Regions from separate parts of the Homo sapiens genome. Here region 1 is linked to region 2. The links are contacts of gene promoters, found by promoter capture Hi-C in human tissues and cell types (Jung and others, 2019). All regions are on one chromosome and are shown on one strand. Each heading gives the region's core, a stretch centred on a gene start or on the middle of the fragment in contact. The rest is flanking DNA. Distances are from core to core; before and after follow the strand shown. Region 1 holds the start of KIF3A (kinesin family member 3A). Region 2 holds the start of GDF9 (growth differentiation factor 9).

Region 1 (7,485 bases), core at 1,031-3,530, 130 kb before region 2:
TTATGTCTATTAAAGAAATTGAATCAATAGTTGAAAACCTTCCCACAAAGAAAACTTCAAGCCCAGATGGCTTCACTGATGAATTCTACCAAACATTTAAGAAATAATACCAATTCTAGACAAATTCTTCTAGAAAACTGAAAAGAAGGGGATACTTTCTAACCCATTCTATGAAACTAGCATTATCACAATACCCAAACCAGAAAAATGCATTAGAAGAAAACTATATACTTACATCCCTCATGAACATGGATGCCAAAATTTTTTTAATTTAGCAAATAAATCTAACAATATATGAACAGAATAATGCATCATGACCAAGTGGCAAAGCTAGTTTCACATTCAAAAATCAATCAATGTAATTGACCATATTAACAAACCTTAAAAAAAAAGATTATTTCAATAGGTGCAGAAAAAAAATTACATTTGACAAAATCCAATATACAATCCAAAAACTCTCAGCGAACTAAGAATAGAAGGGAACTTCCTCAAACCTACAAAGGATATCTGTTAAAATTTACAGACATCATCATACTGGTGAAAGAATGAATGCATTTTCCCTAAGATCAGGAACAAGACCAAAATGTCCACTCTCACCACTTCTAATTTACTGGAGGTTCTAGCCTCCAGGTGCTATCAGGTAACAAAAATAAATTAAAGGAGATTGGAAAGGACAAAGTAAAAACTGTCTTTACTTGCAAACAACATTTTTTTTTTTTTTTGAGACAGAGTCTTGCCCTGTCACCCAGGCTGGAGTGCAATGGCACGATCTTGGTTCACTGCAACCTCCGCCTCCGAGGTTCAGGCGATTCTCCTGCCCCAGCCTCCCGAGTAGCTGGGATTACAGGCACGTGCCACCATGCCTGGCTAATTTTTTTATTTTTAGTAGAGACAGGGTTTCACCATGTTGGTCAGGCTAGTCTCGAACTCCCGACCTCGTGATCTGCCTGCCTCGGCCTCCAATGTGCTGGGATTACAGGCGTGAGCCACTGTGCCTGGCCAACATATTCTTACAAGTAGAAAATCCTACAAAATTTACAAAAAACCCAAAACATAAAAAAACTACTAGAATTAATAAGTTTAGCAAAGTTTCAGGATACAAGGTCAATATACAAAAATCAACTGTGGGTACTAAGAGGGCAGTCATCAAAAAGACAGTAACAAGTGCTGGCAAAGATGTGAAGAAATCAGAAACCTCACACATTGCTGATGGGAATATAAAATGGTGTAGCTACTGTAGAAAAGTTTGGCAGCTCCTCAAAACATTAAACAAAGTTACCATGTGACCTAGTAATTCCACTCTTAGGTATATACCCAAGAGAAACTAAACATATGTTCACACAAAAATCTGTAAAAGAATGTTCAAAGTAACATTATCTGTAATAGCTAAAAAGTAGAAACAACAAATGTTCACCAACTAATAAATGGATAAACAAAATATGATATATCTATACAATATTATTCAGACATAAAAAATAATGAATTGCTGGCCTAGTGCAATGGCTCACGCCTGTAATCTCAGCACTTTGGGAGGCCGAGGCGGGTGGATCACAAGATCAGGAGTTCAAAACCAGCCTGGCCAATATGGTGAAACCCCGTCTCTACTAAAAATACAAAAATCAGCCAGGTGCAGTGGCTCACGCCTGTAATCCCAGCACTTTCAGAGGCTGAGACAGGCGGATCACAAGGTCAGGAGATCAAGACCATCCTGGCTAACACGGTGAAACCCCGTCTCTACTAAAAACACAAAAAATTAGCTGGGTGTGTTGGCGGGCGCCTGTAGTCCCAGCTACTCAGGAGGCTGAGGCAGGAGAATCGCTTGAACCCAGGAGGCAGAAGTTGCAGTGAGCCAAGATCACGCCACTGCAATCCAGCCTGGGCGACAGAGCAAGACTCCGTCTCCAAAAAAAAAAAAAAAGTAATGAATTGCTGATATATGTTTATATGTTACAATAGGGATGAAGCTTGAAAACACTGTAAGTGAAAGAAGTTATTCACAAAAGGCCACATAGCATATAATTCCATTTATAGAAAATGTCCAGAATAGGCAAACTCATAGAATAGATATAGACAGTAAATTAGTAGTTGCTGGGTTGGGGGAAGGGAGGTGGTAATGGATTGGGAGTGACTGACTGCTAATGGATACAGGGTTTCTTTTTGGAGTGATAGAAATGTTCTGGAAACAGACAGCGGTGACAGCTGTACGACATTGTAAATGTACCTATGAACTATAAAGTGTAAAATGGTTAAAATCATAAATTTGATATTTGAATTTTATCACAAAAGCTACCTAAAGAAATCAATTTCATCTCTATATATTAGTAACACACAATCCAAAATTGAAATTATGAAAGCAATCCTATTCACAATAGCATCAAAAAAATACTTAGGAATAAATTAATCAAAACAAGTGCAATACTTGTACACTAAAAGCTACAAAATACAGATGAGAGAAATTAAGATATAAATAAATGGAGAGAAGCTGGACATGGTAGCTGACATGGGAAATCCCAGGGCTTTGAAAGGCCTCAGTAGGAGATTGCTTGAGCCTAGGAGTTCAAGACCTGACTGAGCAACACAGCAAGACCCAGTCTTTACAAAAACAAAAAAATGAGCCAGGTGTGGTGGCGCACAGCTGTAGTTCTCATTACTCAGGAGGCAGAAGTGAGAGGATAGCTTCAGCCCAGGTTCAAGGCTGCAGTAAGCTATGACTGCACCACTGCACTCCAGCCTGGGCAACAGAGCAAGACCCTGTCCATAATTCATTAATGTTTCAACGTTTTAAATGAAGAGAAGTATCATGTTCATGGACTGAAGACTCAATATTGTCAGAATGACAATTCAACACAATCCCTATGAAAATCCTAGCAGGATAAACTTCAAAAACATTATTTGATGTGAAAGAAAACAGATAAAAAAGGTGACATATTATATGACATCATTTATATGACATTTCAAGAAAAGGCAAAATTATAGTGACAGAAAGCAGATCAATAGTTGCTTGGGGGTGGGTCTGCAAATGGGCATAAAGGAAATTTTGAGGATGACAAGGGTGTTCTAAAGCTGGATTGTGATGATGGTTTCACAACTGTATATATTTACTACACTCATCAAACTGCACAGCTGCAATATGTGAATTTATGGCACAGTAATTATGTCTCAATAAGGGAGTTTTTTAAAAAGTAAAGATTCACTTACCATTGTAGCCTTCAAGTACAGAATCAATAATAGGTCTTGCAGTTAAGTTATAAACATCAAGTTGTTTACTCTCTGGTCCAAAAACAGTATCAAAAGTAAATGTCTTTGGAGGTTCATTGGAAGAATCAGTCTTATGTACAGTGATAGTTCCCCTCATCTCATCCACACTGACAGCCTGTTTGTAGCACATTGATTTCTCTCTCTCATTGAGGGGCCGGCACCTAACAACAACCTTCACATTATCGCAGCTTTCTGGCTTCTCTGATTTATTGATCTGTTGGAGATAATATTTACAAATAATGAAAAGAACATTAATTTTTACCCTCATCAGATTAAATTTATAAACTTTAAAAGGCTACTTTTCCAACTCAGTGCCTTGCACACATTAAACACTTCACAGGTATTTGTTAAATGCAATTAAAGATCTTACATATAGCTGAAAAGTTTATTAAAAGATACAAAAAGGAAAATCGTTTCTTTTAAAATGTAAAAGGGAGAGAAGAGCTAGTTCACATTTGTGGCAAAGGCTGTACAAGCAGAAACTGAACCAGTATATTATAGATCATCTTTTTGCACAAAAGTCTCTGACCCAGCGTTTCCTGCCTGTAGGAAAACACATGTGAACATGGTTAACAACTTTAACTCAAGAAAATAGTAGGTCCTTTGTTTCCCCTGAGACTTTAGTTTTATTTCCTATCACGCATCTGTAAAATGGTTTTTATCATGTAATATATCCATATATGGCTTATCTTCTCTACAGAAAACAATAATAAGATAAAGACAGAAATGAAAGTCTAATGGCAAAGAAAAATGCCTTAGTATTACCTAACCTTATAAGCATTTGTATATGTAAAGTTTCCATTTCTGAATTTTTTTTTTCTTATTTATGAGGCACAGTCTCACCCTGTCACCCAGGCTGGAGTGCAGTGGCGTGATCTCAGCTCACTGCAACCTCTGCCTCCCAGGCTCAAGCGATTCTGCTGCCTCAGCCTCCCCAGCAGCTAGGATTACAGGCGTCCATCACCATGCCCAGCTAATTTTTGTATTTTTAGTAGAGACGGAATTTCATCATGTTGGCCAGGCTGGTCTCGAACTCCTGACCGCAAGTGATCCACCCACCTCGGCCTCCCAAAGTGCTGAGATTACAGGCATGTGCCACCGCACCCCGTCATTTCTGAAATTTTATGATTAAGAAAATATAATGAAACACAATCCTATTATTGAAGTGAAAAGGACAGTTTAGTTGAACAGATACTTGTTAAATTCCTACTGTTTCAGATTCTCTTCTAAGCATTGAAGAGAAACAAATATGAGTCATTGTCATTGACTCTGACATTGTCACTGACAAGTAACAGATTATATCAGTACAATACACTTCTATCTATCTCTCATCCTATTCCTCTCATCTATTCATCACCCTAGTCTAAATCACCATCATCTTGGCCCTGGATTACTGCCTCCTAACTATACTCCTGAATCTAATCAGATTGCCCTACTGCCTATTCTCCAAATAGCAGTCAGTGTCAACACACATCTAATCATGTCACTCTCCTACTTAAAAATTCTTCAGTGGTTTCCCATAGATCTCAGAACAAAAACCAGAATCCTTAAGGTGGTCTGTAAGGTCTGGCTTCCACCCACGTCTGCTTCACTGGGCTTATTTCACAAGATATTCTGCCTGGCTCATCCATGCCACAGCCACACTGAGCTGCTTGGCCTTTTCTTGTCACCATGCTCCTCACCACTGGCCTTTCCATGTGCTGTTCCTTCTACCTAGAACCATCTTCAATCCCCTCTTCACTTAGTTAACATCTACTTATCCTTCAGAACTCAACAGCCACTTCACCTGGGAAGACTTCCTGACTAGGTCAAATACTCTTATAGGCTCAGAGAGCACCCTGCTCTCCCCTTCCTGGACACAAATTTTACTTTTGCTTGTTCCTTATTTGATTAATGTCTTTCTGTCTACACCAGAGGTTGCAAACAGGTAGTCAAGAGGCTGAATTCAGCCCACAAATTTCTTTTGTTTGGTTCATAGTATTTAAAGAGCTTTTGAATTAGTTGCTAAAATTGAGAAATTTCACAAAAATAATTTCTAAAGTCTCTTCTTGGGAGGAAAAAAAATGACCTGTTATCATCTGCAGACCATCATTCTTACATGGCAATACATTCCAATTCACCAGAATCTACTTCTCTCTATTGTAGGATACCCACCCACTTCATTATTAAGGTTTTGTGTCTTACGTCTGTAAATATGTATGATTTTCACCTCTGCCCAAGAAGGCAAGCCTCTCTCTTTCCAAGTTCAAGAACCTGACTGGTGTTGCTCAATGTTGTATCTTCAGGGCCTAGCATGTGGTTGGTGCCCAATATTTACTGAATTAAAACTTGAAAGCAGTGAACAGAACAAATATAGAGCATTTAATCTTAAATGTCAAGCACTGTCCTTCTAGTCTCCTGTGTATTATTTCACGCGGATAACAACCCCATGAGGTAAAGTTTACATGGGAACTAAGGACCCAGACAGATTAAATAATTATCCGAGGCCTCACAACCACTAAATAAGCGGCCATGGCTCAATTTTCCTCCATGACCCCTAATAAGGGGTCTTAGAAGGCCCCATTATTAAGTTCACGATAACAATCTGTGAAATCCTGGAAGATAAACATAACACCGCCACACACACAAAGACACCTACGGGTTTCATTCTGCATCATAAGCTAAAGCGCCACAAGAGCAATGACAGCTCAAGGCTAGGAGACTCGGAGTATGGGGCCTGGAATAGGGGCAGGCAGCCTTCGCTCCGCTGCCTCCCTGCGCTTGCTCCGAGGCGCAAAGGCCTCACCAGGTGTGCAGCATCCAAAGAGCCCCACCGTGGCCACCCCCAGACGCCCCGCTCAGCAGGAAGGGCTGCGAGCCAGAGCGCATCCTCCAGCACAGCGCCTTTTTGATAAGCGGCGCAGGCCCCACGGGATGCAGCAGCGACGAGGGCGGCAGGGCCTGACCCCAGGTCCCTGTCGAGGCCGGCCGGACCCCCGCGGCCCCGGGGCTGACCAGCCAGGCTCTCCAACCACCTCCACCGCACGACCGAGCCTGCCCCGCCCCACCCAGGCCGCCTGCCGGCTCCGCGCCTCCATGGCAACGGCCGCGCCCCCGGGCCAGGCCGCTAGGATGAGAAGAAACCCCAGAAGCGAAGCGACTCTCCTCACCGGCATCTTGGCCCCCTCCCGTGCCCGGCGGACGTCCCCGCCCGGGGTGCAGCCCAGCGACACCGGGTGCGCAGAAAGGATGGCCAGAGACTACCGAAACACCTCGTTGACGCTCTCGAGACTGCGGCTTCTCGGGCGAGAGCGCCCAGTGCGCAGCCGCATTCCGAGCTCGCCCCGCCCCAAGCCCAGTCTCAGGCTCTCTCGGCCCTTGAATTACGCCTGCGCGGAGGCTTTCCGAGTCCATCTCCTAGGACGCCAGACTGAGGCCGCGCGTGCGCAATGCTGCCATTCTGCTGCGCTAGAAATGTGGCACGCACTGAGGCGGAGGTAACCTGGCAGCCCGGGGTTGGGAGGAGGAGCTGCTCTTAGGCCCGTCTTCTGGCCCTTGCAATACCCGGAATATTAAAATCAGTAATAGCAATTGTACATTTTGTCTCATCCGAAGAATTGAAGACCTTACCTACCTGACCTCGCTTGATTGCTAACTTCCTCATGACCTGTCTTACCATTAGAAAGTGAGCTCTCTTAAGGAGATTGTTAGTATTCTCACATCTATCTCCAGAGCCCACACAGAGCCTGGCACAGAGTGGGATTTTTATACGTGTTGGTCAAAGAACCAGTGATCCGTCCATCCTCTTTCTAGTCCACTTGAATGTGTAATGGGCATTTCAAGTTAATCATGTCCAGAATTGAAATCTTGATCCCCCATCAATCGCCCCACTACCCACTCCACCCCCATCAAAAAATTTAAAAGGGCTCTCTCTCATCCCTCTCAGACTTTCTTCATCTCAATATGTGGGAGCTTAATTCCGACAACTGCTCAGGTCAAAATTGCAGTCTCTTTCATACACAATATTCTATCTTTAAATACAGCCTGTTGTATCTATCTTTGTAGTGGAACCAGAATTTGGCCACTTCTACCACCACCATCGTCTCTCACGTGCATTACTACAATCGCTCAGAACTGGTTTCCTTGATTGTGTGTCCTTGTCCCTTTTCAGTGTGCTGGACAGGAGCCAGAGTGCTGGTGCTAAAACATGAATCAGATCTTCTCTTTTCTCTGCTCAAAACCCTCCAT
Region 2 (6,729 bases), core at 2,699-5,198:
CCAGGTTAAATAGCAGTTCCACTGATGGAAGGATTCCTAAGAAGAAAAAAAATCTACCAGTAGTGCTTGAAAATCAGTCAACACAACAGGCAGTCAAGTCAAAGAATTAGTACTTCATAATATGCTTTCTCCCTTCTCTTTTCCCCACTTTCTCAAGCCTCAAAAAAAAAAATGGGGGTTAATATAGAAAAGGAAGGCAATTGGTATCATTACTAATTCCCAGCAACCTTACTGGACATTTTATCTCCAGAAAGTCAGATTTGGTGGTGAATCAAAGTAACAGGGAATCACTACATTCTGAAGTTTCATTTTTATTTTTTATTTTTTTGAGACAGGGTCTCACTGTTACCCAGGCTGGAGTGCAGTGGCACCATCATGGCTCACTGCAGCCTCAACCTCCCAGGTGCAACTGATCCTCCCACCTTAGCCTCCCAAGTAGCTGGGACTACAGGCATGAGCTACCATGCCCAGCTGATTTTTTGTTTTTGTAGAGACAAGGTCTCGCCATGTTGCCCAGACTGGTCTTGAACTTCTGGGCTCAGGCGATCCTCTCACCTCAACCTCCCAAAGTGCTGGGATCACAGGCATGAGCCACTGTGCTCAGCCTGAAGCTTCATTCTGAGTAATTTGCTCCAAACACAGAAGCAGCTGAGCTGATAAGGAAAGTAGTATTTTTCTCTTGGATAATCTCTAGAGGGAAAACCATAATAGAAACACTTATCAGACTTACTAAGATGACATTCTAAGCCCTAGTGAAGAAAGTCAATTTAAAACAATGTAATTGGTCCTAGTTAATTTAGAACACTTGAGATTAAAAACAGATGCTCTAAAACCACTATATTAAAATAGGATATTAAGGAAGCAGATACAACTGCCCTGTTGGGTTAGAATGGTTTTAAATCAAGAGCTGGTAGATATATACTTTTTTTTTTTTTTTTGAGACAGAGTCTCGCTCTGTTGCCGGGCTGGAGAGCAGTGGTGCGATCTTGGCTCACTGCAACCTCTGCCTCCTGGGTTCAAGCGATTCTCCTGCCTCAGCCTCCCGAGTAGCTGGGACTACAGGTATGCACCACCACACCCAGCTAATTTTTGTATTTTTAGTAGAGACGGGGTTTCACCATGTTATAATTTTTTAAAGCACCACACCCAACTGCTGAGTCAAACTGTGGACTGATACTTTGTTCTTGTAAGGGCCAACTGTTCAAAACGGGAACTTTAAGCTTTTCTCTCACAGAAAGTAACAAACAAGAGAAAAATATCCTATTTAACACATCACACCAATAGCTGTAAGAGATGTTTAAGGTCCATTTCTGGGCCAAAAGCTTGGTGGAACAGAAAGAGGTGCTAACATTCTCTAGCAGCACTTCCGCTCAGCCTTGAAAGCCATTAAGTCTCTGGTGTTGCTTTAAAATTCCATCATATTAGCCCACCTTAACCAATGAGAGCGTTAGGAATAAACAATAAGCTCAAGTCCCAGATTTGTTTCAACTGGATATTGAGTTTTATGCAAAATAAAATACAATTCAAGGAACTAGGCTCAGCTCCTTTCTGTAATTGAAATGCAGAAGTGTCTATCATCTTCCCTCCACCCAGTTAACCAATCTGCTTTCACATACCTGTTACCTGGTCTCCAGGAGCCTGCTTGTGCCGGGTACAGGGGGTGAAGAGCCGAACAGTGTTGTAGAGGTGACTTCTATTGGATTTAGGAATCCCTTCCTTGGTAGCATATGTCTTATAGAGCTTCTTCATGTAGTGCAAAGCTCTGGAGTCTGGCTGCAGCCTAGGTGACCCACCTCGCCCAACAGATAGAACTTTGAAAAGCGCGGGAAGGAGGCCAGCTCTGTCTCTCTCATCTATATGCTGCAGCAAGGACCAAGGCATAGCCCCAGATTCCAACTCAGCACTAGCAGCAATCTGAGCTTCTCCCCCAGAAGCCTGAGAACCAAGGCTAATAGGAAAACACAGCCAGGCAAAGCAGCAAAACCAAAGGAGGAATTTGTTGGGACGTGCCATGGCTTGGGAGAACTAGTGAGGAACATATTTCTCCATGCCAGTCCTCTTCCTAAAGGCCAGGAAGAGCCTAGCTTGGTCTCTTAAATAAATTTCAGGTGTGTGGGTGGACTACGGTCACTTCTGTAATCAGGCCTCAAGTATGCCTAGCTGAAGATTTTATCAGCTCTATATCAAGCAGCTGATAACACCTTATTTAGCCAATTTGTTAATTAGATACAGATTTACTTGGTTATTTAGCTTTCCTCTCTTTTCCCCTGGCATTTACGTAAAACCCGTTACTGTTACACTACCGGACTAACTATGTAGCTGAAAGTCTAAGATAAATTGAGGAATGATCTTAAATAAAATCTCTCATTTTTTGAGAAATTTGGATTAAGATGTTCGCTAGGTGCTTGCTGAAACTTCTAAGGCATGTGGAAAAGCTAACCAATTATTCATGACGATACTCAGATCTGCTGGTATGCAACTTATGGTATTAGGTTTACTCTTCCTCTCAATTTATCCTCACGGCCTTTTCCACTTCCAGGTGTTTACAATTGTAATTATTCGCTGCATGTTAATTTGCGAATTTACAAATTTGGGTGAGAAAGTCACAATTGGCATAGAAGTTCCAGAAAGCAGAAAACCATTAGGTCTCTCAGTCCTCCCAGGTGGCTGGGTACAGAATACGTACTTGGAGTACTGGAATTGTATTTGCGATGTTCTTAAAAGAGGACACCGCCTTTAACCTTGACTTATTTTTAAATGTAACATACTGATGTCCTTACTTTGGTCTGCACACTCATCTATACATATTTTGGTTGAAAGGTTTTGGGATGTTTGCAGATGCTATAAAATAAATGAACGTTTTATTATTATTCATCCAAATGGTGGTAGAATTTGCCACAATATTTCTGTCCTTACCTGTATTTCTGTTCTTGCCTTGGAGCTGAGACCAGGCTAGACATTATGGTTTAAAAAAATGAGGCAAAGGAGCACCATGAAAAGCTGAAATGAGGGGATATTCAGCGCCACCCCGAAGGAGACTATGCTGGAAGAGTCAGCCTACACTCATAGTGCAAGATACGAAGCCAGTTTGTGCAGTACCTACATGAGAAAACTAAGGTATGTCTGCAAAATACAAGTTGACTGCCTGCCGAGCCTCCGTGGTCCGTAAGTAGTGTTATAAAACACAGCCAACTGTTGAATGAGAGCTTAGTCCTAGATAAAATATGGCCAGCAATTCCATTAACAAAACACTGACAAGACACCTCAGGGCGAGCTGTACATTGACAACAGCATCGTCAAGCAGAATGCACTTCAGGGAAAACATAATAAGGCCTCTCACCCGACTTTCCTTGCTTCTCACGTGGGGAGAAGAAAGAACTGGGGCATCGTGATTCCCCCCACCCCACGCAAACCATCTGGGGAGGACGCTGGCTGCTGTCGAGGCGGCCTCAGCATTCATCAATTGACGATTATTTGATTATTTTTGTGGCTGAAACTGACGAAACGTTTGTATTATCTCTTGGGAACGTTAACAGCCTGCCAGGGGACTCTAAAACAGAGTCCAAGAGAAGCCTTCGATGTGTGTCCCTGATTTTGGTGCTGGGGTCGCTCATGGCCTGAAAATAACGAAGCCCCCTTTGAGCTACTGGCCAAGGCCAAATGAAACCTCGTGCTCCTCTGCTGTGGGGCGGCCCGGCCTCGGGGCTCAGAGGCGCTCTGTCTACAGCTGGGAAGACTCGCAGGCCCCAAGCTCCTGGCCAGCGCTGCCCCGGAGGTCGGCAGGCCCCTTCCTCGTCACCTTTTTGTTCCCTCCCCCGCCTCCCGCATTCGGCCGCTTCCTGACTGGGATTCCACAGAAAAGCCGAGGGCTGAGGAGAAGTGTGAGCGCCTCCGCCTGTCCACTGTCCCCCAAAGTCAGTTCAATCCCCGACGTCCTCCGCTAGGCTCCACCCCACCGGCCCGGGCAGGGCCTCCAAGGCACCTCCCACCTACGGGTCACCCAGTCAGCCCACTTCTTTCTGGGACAAAGGCGTCATCCCTTAGAGACAGTAGGAAAATGGTATCTCCCGGAAGTTACCTCACGACCTCCAAGAGCGGCTTCCAACCTTGCCGGAAATGACGAACGAGTCAACCGGATCGGTGACTGTGGAGGGCGAGCTGAGCCCTGTGCGTGAGTGGGGTCTGGTTGTGCAGTGTTCGTGGACCCTGGGAGGCTAGGGGCGCCCCGCTGGGCTGGGAAAGGATAAGGAGTGCAGGGGCAGGAGTCTGGGGTTGGGGATGGACCCCCGCGGGGACTGCGGCGCTTCGCGAAAGCGAGCCAAGCGCCTGTCCACCCTCGGTCCTGCAGGGCCGCCGCCACAATGGGCCGCGAGTTTGGGAATCTGACGCGGATGCGGCATGTGATCAGCTACAGCTTGTCACCGTTCGAGCAGCGCGCCTATCCGCACGTCTTCACTAAAGGAATCCCCAATGTTCTGCGCCGCATTCGGGAGTCTTTCTTTCGCGTGGTGCCGCGTGAGTGCCTTGGGCCCGCGGGAGCGGGAGGCTGGACCCCAGCAGCAGCAGCAGTCACTGCGCCTCCCCTCTGAGCGCTGGCGGCCGGGCAGGCGCTCTGTAACTTGCCGTACACACCTTTCTCATTGAATATTCCTGACCGCCCTTAAGCTGGTCATATTATCCTCCCCATCTTACACGGGGAAAACTGAGCTACAGAACTGAAATGACTGGCCCAAGGTCACTCGGGTGATTCCAGCATGTTCCTCTGAGGTCACCTTTATTTAGTTCTTACCAGTGGTGAAATGCTTTGTGTTAAACGTGCAGCAGATAGTGATGATAGTTGCATGGCCTTGGATATGCTAAGAACTACTGAAGTGTATGCTTTAAAGAAGACAAGAGGACTGAGACCTTTTTTTTTCTTCTATATGTCTTATATGTGTGCTCTCTGTTTACTCTCTTAATTTTTAAAGAGTTTGTAGTGTTTTATCTTATCTACACATGGGGGACTGAAGAGTTCGAGAGATCCAAGAGGAAGAATCCAGCTGCCTATGAAAATGACAAATGAGCAACGCATCCGGATGACGGTTCCCTGTCTCTGAAAGACCTTTCTCTGGAAGAGGAGTCTGCATTGTAGTGTCTCAAAGACACAATAAACTTCCTATGGTCTGCACTGTTGTGATATTACATTTTTGTGAGTAGAATCCTGTGTGACCACTAATATTCAAGTTCATGAAGCGCCCCTCCTCAGCATGAGTCTTGAAGTTTTGCCTGGTCTCGGGTTTTGGTGAAAGAGCAGGGCTCCCCCTTTGTTCCATTATCTACAAGAAAGTAGCTGCAGGTACTCCTGCATCTAACCATTTGTGGGTGACATGGGCTATGGCGAGTGCTGGTTCTTGGCCCTCTGCTCCCATAGCAACAATAAAGTCTACTAACTATATTGTAATTAGTATGTGTCAGGGACGCTTTTATTTTTTATTTTTTGAGATGGAGTCTTGCTCTCTCACCCAGGCTGGAGTGCAGTGGTGTGATCTCGGCTCACTGCCATCTGTGCCTCCTGGGTTCAAACGATTCTCCTGTCTCAGCCTCCGAGTAGCTGGGATTACAGGTGCAGGACACCACACCTGGCTAATTTTTTGTATTTTTAGTAGAGACAGGTTTCACCATGTTGGCCAGGCTGGTCTGGAACTCCTGACCTCAGATGATCTGTGCGCCTCAGCCTCCCAAAGTGCTGGGATTACAGGCGTAAGCCATGGTGCTCTGGGCCTCAAATACTCTTCTTAGCTACACAAATGAACTGTTAAACCTCACAAGCACCTTTAACGTATCCTCATTTGGCAGATGAGGAAATGGGCACAGAGAGATTAAGTAATTTGCCAGAAATTATACAGCAGTGAATGGTGGAGTCTTGCACTAAAGTGATGCTCTTAAAACTATGCTCTATTGCAGGGGTGTCCAATCTTTTAGCTTCCCTGGGCCACACATAAAATACGCTAACATTACAATAGCTGATAAGCTTTAAAAAATGGCAAAAAAAACCCTCAGCGTTTTAGAAAGTTTACAAATTTTTGTTGGGTCGGATTCAAAGCCATCCTGGGCTGCTTGCTGCCCAGGACTGCGGTTGGACAAGCTTGCTCTACTGCCTTTCCTCCTAAGGCAGGCCTTAGCCTGAGGGGATATCAGCTATAAAACGGATGAGGTGATCTCTTAGCCTCCACAGCAGTTTTCTGTTTCTGTGCCAGGAGGCCAACAATGTTTTCAACCATATGTGGTTCATAAAGCCTCAAAGATTTACTCTGGCCCTTTATGAATAAAGTTTACCCCTGATCTAAAGCCTTTAAATTATCTTTTTGGTATTAAAGATACCATTTTCCCTTCGCCCACCGAGAGATGGTGGGGGTAGGTGTGGTTGGCAGTTTTATGCCTCTAGTTCCTTAGAGAGGCTTCTCTCTAAGCTTCGGGACATGGATCTCACCTGTGGTAGCAGGTATGTGGAATATGATGAGTTGTCATAGCTCAGTCAGTACAGTATATGCTATGGGATCTGAGATCCGTTTTTAGAAACTCTTCTAAGGACTCTTCCTGCTAGCAGCAACTTTGATTCTGGGTCAGACTGTGTTTTTTTTTTTTTTTTTTTGAGATGGGAGTCTTGCTCTGTCACCAGGCTGGAGTTTAGTGGCGCAATCTCAGCTTACTGCAACCTCCGCTTCCCGGGCTCAAGTGATTCTCCTGCCT

Evidence for each region. Contacts are between HindIII fragments. The study calls those that stand out against the background at their distance.
Region 1: a fragment that was not itself captured here is called in contact with the fragment with the promoter of GDF9 in region 2 in 1 of the 25 tissues and cell types used here (hippocampus).

What each region holds. Positions count from the first base shown.
Region 1 is chr5:132,731,007-132,738,491 of GRCh38, forward strand. It overlaps KIF3A (kinesin family member 3A), which reads right to left and starts at 6,540. Exons shown (of 19, transcript NM_001300791.2): 1 at 6,408-6,540; 2 at 3,199-3,472. The coding sequence starts at 6,413. RefSeq lists an enhancer at 5,845-5,944 and a silencer at 6,095-6,404. The HindIII fragment of the contact is 5,462 bases long and covers 1-5,011 here.
Region 2 is chr5:132,862,521-132,869,249 of GRCh38, forward strand. GDF9 (growth differentiation factor 9) reads right to left here and starts at 3,949. Exons shown (of 2, transcript NM_005260.7): 1 at 1,617-3,949; 2 at 1-36. The coding sequence starts at 2,013. It overlaps UQCRQ (ubiquinol-cytochrome c reductase complex III subunit VII), which reads left to right and starts at 4,122. Exons shown (of 3, transcript NM_014402.5): 1 at 4,122-4,167; 2 at 4,349-4,515; 3 at 4,968-6,327. The coding sequence starts at 4,362. The coding sequence ends at 5,062. RefSeq lists enhancers at 3,401-4,600, 3,459-3,959, 3,960-4,460. The HindIII fragment of the contact is 5,371 bases long and covers 916-6,286 here.